Linked DNA regions of Homo sapiens: region 1 is linked to region 2. The links are contacts of gene promoters, found by promoter capture Hi-C in blood cells and fetal thymus (Javierre and others, 2016). All regions are on one chromosome and are shown on one strand. Each heading gives the region's core, a stretch centred on a gene start or on the middle of the fragment in contact. The rest is flanking DNA. Distances are from core to core; before and after follow the strand shown. Region 1 overlaps HCFC1 (host cell factor C1). Region 2 holds the start of LAGE3 (L antigen family member 3).

Evidence for each region. The method cuts DNA at HindIII sites, captures the fragments that hold promoters and counts their contacts. A CHiCAGO score of 5 or more calls a contact.
Region 1: a contact is called between a fragment that was not itself captured here and the fragment with the promoter of LAGE3 in region 2, in 1 of 17 cell types (non-activated CD4 T cells). The highest score is 6.7, in non-activated CD4 T cells.

What each region holds. Positions count from the first base shown.
Region 1 is chrX:153,963,566-153,968,057 of GRCh38, reverse strand. It overlaps HCFC1 (host cell factor C1), which reads left to right. Exons shown (of 26, transcript NM_005334.3): 2 at 3,332-3,480; 3 at 3,774-3,934. Among named protein-coding and RNA genes, the nearest start is that of HCFC1-AS1, 3.0 kb to the left of the region's middle. RefSeq lists enhancers at 1,060-1,719, 1,720-2,378. The HindIII fragment of the contact is 550 bases long and covers 2,704-3,253 here.
Region 2 is chrX:154,476,694-154,481,615 of GRCh38, reverse strand. LAGE3 (L antigen family member 3) reads left to right here and starts at 2,335. Exons shown (of 3, transcript NM_006014.5): 1 at 2,335-2,888; 2 at 3,205-3,333; 3 at 3,558-3,841. The coding sequence starts at 2,701. The coding sequence ends at 3,672. PLXNA3 (plexin A3) reads right to left here. Exons shown (of 33, transcript NM_017514.5): 33 at 3,837-4,922. RefSeq lists an enhancer at 1,961-2,460 and a silencer at 2,722-2,941. The HindIII fragment of the contact is 14,076 bases long and covers 1-4,922 here.

The DNA of each region.
Region 1 (4,492 bases), core at 1,729-4,228, 510 kb after region 2:
CAGATGAGGAAATTGGGGTCCAAGAGGGGAAGTGACAGGTCCAGGGTCGCCCTCCCAGCTGGTGGCGGAGTTGGGCGGGAGTGCAAACCTTCATAGAGGCCGTTCTGCCACCTGTCTTTGGGGCCCATCACCTTTGAAATGCCTCCATTCTCTCCTCTGTCCCTGTATCTAATTGTTCATTGCGTTGGGCAGGCATCAAATGTGTCCCCTTCCACACCAAGCCCTCCTCTCCTCTTACTAGACTCTTGCAGTCACTTCCTGATTGGCCCTGCTAGTTTCATTTGTCGGGAAATCCTGTTCACCCTTCAAGGCCCGGCTGAAACGTCACCTCTTCTGAGAAGCCCTTTCCACTCCTGTCCTCCCCTCTCCAGCAGTCGCACTGCTCTGTGCTCCCAAGGGCCCGGCTTGGTCAGAGCTCTTCTAGGGTGTTTGTCTCATCGTGGGAGGGGGGCATGCAGCCTTCCTACCCCATTGGGAGTATGAGCACAAGATCGGTGTCCTCTGTGCCTCCCAGCACGTCGTATGCCACACAGGAAATGCTCTAATGTGACAGGTAGAACAGAGAGGAAGGCAGCTCGTTGAACTTGACCGGCCACCTCACTGCATGGGCACCAGTCTCTAGGTGGTGATGGGACAGTGGCAACCAGGGATGGAGCTTGCAGAGCATGAAGTGGTTGGGGGAGCTGATGAAACACAGAGAGGCCGGGGCACAGCCTTGCTCAGGAGAGGGGAGCTGGAGTGGTCTTCATCTAGTGCAGGGTCCTTTCCCCACCTTCCCCTCCCAGCTGAGAGCCAGCATTTCCAGGATGAGGGGCCCAAGGATTGGGTTACATGACACCCCCCAGATGATTCAGGGGTGACTGAGAGCAGCTGTCACATTGAAAAGCTGGGAGAAGGGAGGAGAGCTTGCTCGTGTGCTTTCAGGGGGCGGAACCAGGACTCGTGGGTGAGATGAGGAGCCGCAGGTTTGTCGTCACACCAGGAGCTGTGCTCCCTGACAGACCTCTCTTGACGGGGGTGGGGAGGGCCCCTGCCCTGCCTGGAGTGTTCTAGAATGAGATCAGCACCTCTTGGGTCCTGTAGAAGGATCTGGTGAGCGGGATCCCCAAAGATATCACAGGGCGCTTCTGGCCTGGCCCACCGGCTCACTGATCAGCGTGTGATAGGAAAGCTGCCCACTGACCCCACGTGCCATTTAGCTTTGTCCCAAACTCTGACCCGCAGCCCCATAGCTGTGGGCTTTGACCACGAGGGTGCTCAGGGGAGTGAGGGTGGCTGCCTGGACATGGGACCCTAGGGAAGGCACAGATCGGTTGCTTCAAGTCAGTGATGGGGCTGTTGTCTCTGTCTCTGTTTTACGCTGTGACCTCAGGTGTCGCTTGCCCTCCTGGGCTCTGCCCCTTTACCTACCGAGAGCAGTTGGCCCAGGCAGCCTTAGGTCTCGTTATGCGTTTACCCTGGTAGCTTGCATGGAGCTCCCTCCAGGGATTGGTCAGGACGGCTCTCCAGTGCGCAAGGCTGTTGGCCTTGGCAGCTCTTGCTTTTCTGGGGTGGTTTTTGCACTGGGAATGAGAAAGAGGCAGAGGGCCAGGATCCGAGCTTGCACATGCGGGCGGCACAGGTGTTGTCCCTCTGCTTTAGGGAAATGGCAGGGGAGCTCTAGTGCTCGGCATGTCCGAGGCCCAGTGACTCAGCTGAATGGCTGCAGAGGCTGTCAGCCTGCTCGAAGCCTACCCGCAGAGTGGGTGCTGGAGAGCGGGGTGGGGGTGCTCTCGCCTCAGGAGGAGCGGTGGTGGTACAGTTGTGCTGTGTGGGGTTTTCTGTTTTTTTTGTTTGTTTGTTTGTTTTGAGGTTAGGTCTTGCTCTGTTGCCCAGGCCGGGATGCAGTGGTGCGGTCTCAGCTCACTGCAGCCTCAAACTCTGAGGGTCAGGCAGTCCTCCCGCCTCAGCCTCCTGAGTAGCTAGGACCACAAGTGTATGCCACCACACTGAGCCAGTGTTTTAAAATTATTTGTAGAGACGGGGTCTCCCTGTGCTACCCAGGCTGGGAGTTGTGCTTTGGATAAGGGCTAGCCTTGCACACGGTTCCGCATTGAGCCCTGGGGGTGACAGTGTGAGACTGGGTGGGACCAGAGTGCAGTGGGGCATGCATTCCCAACCATGGTCAGCCGCCTGGCCCTGGGTGCACACCTGAATATGGAAAAAAAACACTGTTTTTCCTCTTCTATGGTCTCACAACACTTTTGGCCACCAAACTGAATAGTCTGTATTATATCACAATATCACAGCATCCCTGTGTGGAAGCCTTCCCACCCCACAGGAATCCCCCCATGCCCTGTCACGTCCTGGGGGACCCATCTTGCGTCTTGAGTCATGTGGAGGGGCCTCAGTTCCTTCTGCCGTCTGCTTGCTGAGATCTCACCCAGGCCAGCTCAGAGGCACAGAGTCGGGGTTGCACCTGGCCCCCAGTTTGGGGTTTCTGGAAAGAGTGTGGTGAATCCTCTGAGGGACCCCTCATAGGAGGAGGTTTTCGGGGAAGCCCTGGCCTGCCAGGTGTGAGGGGAGTCAAGTTTGAGGACATGAGGGAGGGGCCTGGTCCCAGCTGAAGGCTGCTGTGCCATCCTGTGGAAGCAAAGCAGTGCCTAAGGTCTGATTTCCCTCTTTCTTGGTGGTCGCCTCACCCTCATGAGCTTTTGAGAAGCTTCTGTCACAGCTCTGCTGAGACTGCTGCCTCTGGCTTGCAAGAATGTTCTGGAGTACCATAGGTGTGGCAGCAGGGGCAGGGAGGGATGCTGGTGGACCATCACCTAGGAGACCAGAGGAAGTCCGGGAGGTCAGAGCAGAGGCCGGGTCTCATCCCCATGGCTCTTCGTAGCCTGCAGCGGTCACTGTTTTGGCCACTTGAAAGTGCTGCTCTGGGCTCTGGCTGTCCTGACCCTGTGATGAAGGGACAAAAATGTGGGCTCCAGGGAGGAGGAGCACAGGCCCACCAAGAGGGTATTTTGGGGAGAAATTCATGTCTGATCACTGAGTGCTAGGGAAGGAAGGCAGTGGCTAGATTCCCAGTAGCTGATGAGGGATCTTGCACAGTAACTTCCCGCTCATTAAGATGACCTTGGCGAGAAGCAGGGTGGTCACAGGCTCTTTTGCACTGGCCTGAAGTCGAGGGGTTTGGAAGATGGCCCAGGTAGCGCAGCTGGAGTTGCTAGAGCGCCCGCAGGGATGGTGCTGGCTCAGCCCCTCTCACCAAGCTTGACGGCTGGCACATTTGGGGAATGAGAGGAATGGGGGCTCCCGGGTGTTCTGACTTCTGCCTCCTTCTGTTCCCCAGCAACCAACCAGTGGTTCATCCCAGCCGTGAGGGGGGACATTCCCCCTGGGTGTGCAGCCTATGGCTTCGTGTGTGACGGGACTCGCCTCCTGGTGTTTGGTGGGATGGTGGAGTATGGGAAATACAGCAATGACCTCTACGAACTCCAGGTAAAGCAGCCCCAGGTTCTCACTCTGCCTCCTTGGCCCCATGTGACCTGACGGTAGTGGCTTCAGGGTTGAGGCAAGCGGGAGGTGGAAGGGACGCTTGAGAGTCTGCCAAGGCTGCTCTGAACTTGGCCCACCTCAGAAGAAGGCAGCAAGGACCAACACCCAGGACCTTCTTGCTCCAGCAAGGCACCTCGCTCACCCCCGGCCATTTCCTCCTCCACCACAAGTTGCCCCGGGTCCCTAGTGGTGGCCTTCTCATCCCACGGTTCAGTCTCCAGGTCTTGATTTTGCAGGCGAGCCGGTGGGAGTGGAAGAGACTCAAAGCAAAGACGCCCAAAAACGGGCCCCCTCCGTGTCCTCGACTCGGGCACAGCTTCTCCCTTGTGGGCAACAAATGCTACCTGTTTGGGGGTCTGGCCAATGATAGCGAGGACCCAAAGAACAACATTCCAAGGTGAGGCTTGGTCCTTTTCTCTGGAACCCCCCGGGTGGGTGTGCTCTCACATGCACAGGGCTCCATGGTGTCCTAAAGAATGTGCGCAGCAGAGCCCCGTGGCCGGGTCCCTTTCTCGTGCTGGGTTGTAAATGAGAGAGCGGCACCGGATGCCCTCTCAGGAGCTTTCGGGCTCCAAAATCGCTACTGACCCTGAGCAGGCCTCGTGGGAGGAGGGCCAAGCTGGAGGTGGAAGCCACTTTGCCTTGGGCTGGCCCAGCTCTCGGAGTCGGCTTAGAGCTGCTCGCGTTCCTTCTCAGCCTCCGCTGCCTACAAGTTTCCTGATGGGTATTTTCCAAGGCCCGTGGCCAAGGACTCTCTGTCTGGAGGTAGTCCCAAGCCAGCGCCCCCTCTTGCTCTGCGGAGCCCTCATATAATACCCAGCTTTGTGTGCATGGCGGGGGCCTGCTGCTGGGTCTGGACTCGGGGCTGCTGTGCAGCCTCACCCACCCTGTGTCCCCTGTTCCAGTTGGACTCATCCTAGGGAGCTTCTGGCAGCCCCTTCCTCAAGAGCTAGGG
Region 2 (4,922 bases), core at 1,086-3,585:
AATTATTAAGTTAATAACAATTAATTATTACATTGGTGGTTGCAAAGATGGTAATTTTCTGATAGTTTTTTCTACAGCTATTACTTGCCATTTCCCTATAAAAACCTTTCCTTTATCTCTGCTTTCTTTCCTGAATATCATGGACTTTTTTGTTTGTTTGTTTGATTGAGACAGAGTCTCAGTCTGTTACTTGTGCAGAGTGCAGTGGCTAGATCATAGCTCACTGTAGCCTTGACTTCCTGGGCTCAAGCAATCCTCCTGCGTCAGCCTCTCTGGTAGCTGGGACCGCAGGCACACACTGTCACAGCCGGCTAATTTTTTTTTTTTTTTTTTTGAGACAGAGTTTTGCTCTTGTTGCCCAGGCTGGAGTGCAATGGTGCGATCTGGGCTCACCACAACCTCCACCTCCCGGGTTCAAGCCATTCTCCTGTCTCAGCCTCCCAAATAGCTGGGATAACAAGCTCCTGCCACCACAACTGGCTAATTTTTGTATTTTTAGTAGAGATGGGGTTTCACCATGTTGGTCAGGCTGGTCTGGAACTCCTGACCTCAAGTGATCTGCCTGCCTTGGCCTCCCAAAGTGCTGGGATTACAGGCATGAGCCACTGCGCCCAGCCCCATGCAATTTAAATTAGAAATTAAAAAGTCATTCTGCGGTGTGGTGAATAGGTTGTAGAGGGGAAAGTGTAAAAGAGAATCAGCCAGGAAGCTGTTGAGGGAGGTCAAGGAAAGATGCTGGCTTCCACAGCAGACTAGCAGTGGAGAGCGAGAAGTGGGCTGATGTGGAACCTATTTCAGAGGGAAACCCAACAGGATTTGCTGATATAGTTCAGTGTTTAATCCTTCCTTATGACTGCAAAGGAGGAAAATAGGTTGTCCAAACATGACAAACACTGTTGGAAATTTTATGTCACTTTATTTATTCATTTTTTATTTTTATTATTTTTCTTTTTGAGACAGTCTCCCTCTGTCGCCCAGGCTGGAGTGCAGTGGCGTGATGTCGGCTCACCACAACCTCCACCTCCCGGGTTCAAGTGATTCTTCTGTCCCAGCCTCCCGAATAGCTGGGACTACAGGCGCACACCACGACACGCAGCTAATTTTTGTTATTTTTAGTAGGGCCGGGGGTTTCACCATGTTGGCCAGGATGGTGTTGAACTCCTGACTTCAAGTGATCCACCCGCCTCGGCCTCCCAAAGTACTGGGATTATAGGCGTGAGCCACCGTGCCCGGACTGATGTCACTTTAAATACTTTTTTTTTTATTGTAAATGTCATAAAAGACCACTTCGGAAAAATTGGAGGGAAAACACAAAAAGGAAATTAAAGTCACCCACCATACTATTAGCAGAGATCATGAGGATTTACCTGACGCTGTATTGTTCTAGGATTTCTCTACATATGTACAGTAAGAGACTAAGTTGGCATTTTCTTTTATTTTTTGAGGCGGGGTCTGGCTCTATCAACCAGGCTGGAGTGCGGTGGGGCGATCACGGCTAACTGCAGCCTCTGCCTCCCGGGCTCAGGCTGTCCTCCCATCTCAGCCTCCCTAGTAGCTGGGACCACAGGTGTGCACCATCACACCCAGCTAATTTTTGTATTTTTTGTAGAGGCAGGGTTTCACTATGTTGCCCAGGCTGGTGTCGAACTCCCGGGCTCAAGCAATCAACCCTCCTCAGCCTCCAAGAAGCTATGACTACAGGCACGCTCCACCACTCCCAGCTAACTTTTAAAATTTATTTTTGTATTTTTTGTAGAGACGGGGTCTCACTATGTTGCCTGTGTTTGTCTTGAACTCCTGGGCTCAAGTGATCCTCCTCCCTTGGCCTTCCAAAGTGCTGGGATTCCAAGCGGGGGCCACTTTGCCTGGCCTAAACTGGCATTTTCATACTCATAGTTGTGCAGTCTGATTTTTCACGTTATATTAGACCTAGACCCACCGCCAGTACTTTCATTCAAGGCCCTGTCATTTTTCGCCTCCGTGCAGGCCTCCTGCTGACAGGCTCCCCCGCTCTGCACAGCCCACCCGCTCTAAAATGCTTCCTCTAAAATGCACATCCGATGCTTCACAGTCCATGGTGAAGCCCCGTTGGTTGGGCACTGGGGTTGAGGGCAAGAGCAGTATCCTTGGGGGTTACCCGACCCGGCCACCCTCCCTCTGCGAATCGCAACATGGACGTTGTGCCACATCTCCTGGGGCTCTTGGGTCCAGGTAAGAAACGGGGCGGGAAGCCGTCCAGGCACCGCAGGGCCTCACTGGGGCCTCCAGGGACAAGGGGGAAGGCCCCGCCAGCGCAGGCGCGCTAAGGTCACAAGGCGCGCTTAGGGGCGGAGCCTCGCGGGGTGCGCCTCTGGGATAGGCGACCACGGTGTCTTCAAAAGCCCCGTCAGGGTTGGCTTCCTGGGGCCGGACCGACTGTGGGTCAGTTTGCACCAGCGCTCTGGAATCGAGTTACGCGCGAAAGGGCAGAGTTTCTGGAGGAAACCGCAGCCTCTCAACCGCTGACCGGGTCTCAGAAGGCCCCCGGCAGGGCCGCTTGGCGGGAACTGACCACGCGCCAGTCAGGCTCTCCAGGGACCTGCGCAGGCGCGTGTGGGCGGAGTCGTGCGCAGGGGGCGGGGCTTCGGGAAGGAGCCACAGAGAGGGCGGGGCGTAGGACCTGCGCTTCGGGGGTGGAGTCGGAGCGGCGCGGCGGCGGTCATGCGGGACGCGGATGCAGACGCAGGCGGAGGCGCTGACGGCGGGGATGGCCGGGGTGGCCACAGCTGCCGCGGGGGCGTGGACACAGCCGCAGCTCCGGCCGGTGGAGCTCCCCCAGCGCACGCGCCAGGTCCGGGCAGAGACGCCGCGTCTGCGGCCAGGGGGTCACGAATGCGGCCGCACATATTGTATCCTTTCCGAGCTGGGGGCTGCTTGCGGCGGAGCGAGGGCTGGACTCGGGGAGAAGGAAAGGAGGGCGGGCGGGGGGCCGACGGAAAGGGTAGCAGGGGGGGACCGGGGCTGGCGTATACGGTCAGAGGTGGTCGGAGGAGGGGAAGACATTGAAATGGAGGGAGAAGCTCTGCTAACGGTGGCCTGGGCGAGGTAAGGAGTGAAGGGGGTGACACTAGGCAGGGTGACCTGAGAGGGGGCTTCAGAGGAGCAAGAAGGCCTGAGACATAGGCAAGATCGTATCAGATGGCACCTTAACCGAATGACCCCCAGCACCCTCAGCGTGCCTTTCCCGACCCCCTTGGAGGCGGAAATCGCCCATGGGTCCCTGGCACCAGATGCCGAGCCCCACCAAAGGGTGGTTGGGAAGGATCTCACAGTGAGTGGCAGGATCCTGGTCGTGTAAGTTCTGAAAGGGACGGGGTTGGGGGAGGCGGCCCATGGAGACATGGGGGACATCCAAGGATGAGCCCTAAGGAGCGCCAGGTGCGCTGGGCCGGTCTCTGCCTGAGGGGCTGTGTAATGGCAGGGCTCCCAAGGGTTTGCTATATTGGGTGCCTGAGGGGCAGAGCGAGGGACCAGGAGTTGCCACCTCCAATTTGATTTTCTTTTCCCCTCACTTTTAGCCGCTGGAAAGCTGAAGACTGTCGCCTGCTCCGAATTTCCGTCATCAACTTTCTTGACCAGCTTTCCCTGGTGGTGCGGACCATGCAGCGCTTTGGGCCCCCCGTTTCCCGCTAAGCCTGGCCTGGGCAAATGGAGCGAGGTCCCACTTTGCGTCTCCTTGTAGGCAGTGCGTCCATCCTTCCCTAGGGCAGGAATTCCCACAGTTGCTACTTTCCTGGGAGGGCCTCATGTTTTATCTGGTTCTTAAATGTTTGTTACTACAGAAAATAAAACTGCGCTACTATTCCAAGTCTGAGTTTATTTGCAGCTGGGGCACCTCCCAATATTCTTGTTGTGCTTGGGTTGCTGGGGGGGGGGTTCTAGAATTCAGATATTCAAGGAGTACAAGGAAATTGAAGACAATTTAGGAAATGGAAGAAAATGAAAATCAATTGGGTTCTGTCATTCAGGATTAACTACTGTCAACATTTTGGAATACTTCCTCAGTTTTACAGTTGCACTTACATAGTAAATGTGTAACTGTAATATACACCACATAATATTTGCAAGTTTAGTGTTAAATTTTTTTCCTGATTTTTAAATCTAACATGAGCTTTTTTCCTCTAACGATCAGTGAAGAAAGTGCTGGGGCAATTGACTAGTGTCTGGGGCAAGGAGTTGGCTCCCTGGAAAATACAGTGTCTCCAGCCTTAGGGCTCTTTTATAGATTCTATCAGATTTTCTGAGAGTGAAAAGGAAGAGGTACAACTGCTTTTATTCTCAGAAAACAAGGAAATGGTTTGATCCTTTTGAGTCTTGCTTTGAAGATGTGCTGTGTGGGACCAGAGCAGCTCTTAACTGTAGGCTTGTTTCCCTCTATGGAGGCAACAAACACCATTCTGGGCACCCTGGCCAGTGCTGCCTAGGTGAACATGAGCTTCTCTATCCTGGTGGGTGGGGACAGCTGCTAGTCCCTGTCCTGCTTGCACACTGGAGTTACCGTTCATCCTCTCCTGCTGGGGTGATGGCCTTCCCTGGTCTTGGGTAGCTTCCTCACACGCCTGTGCTCACCAGTAGTCGTAGTCCGCTGCACACTGGAACGGGAGCCTCTGTGGATATCCAGGGTTCTTTCCCTGTGCAGCTCTCTTCTCTCTGGTTCTCCGCCCTGCAAACTCCAGCTGCTGGGACGCTCTGAATCAGTTTCAACTCCTAAAGTCCGGGTGTCTGCCAGGCTCCACCAGGAAACTCCACACAGGACACTGGGCCAGTCGCATGGCTTACCTTGTTTCCCAGCTCCCACACGTCGCTGTCCCTCACTGGCCCACAGCCAGTTTTTTAATACTCTGCATTCCATATATTTTGTCTGGTTTGGCGTGTTCTTTCAT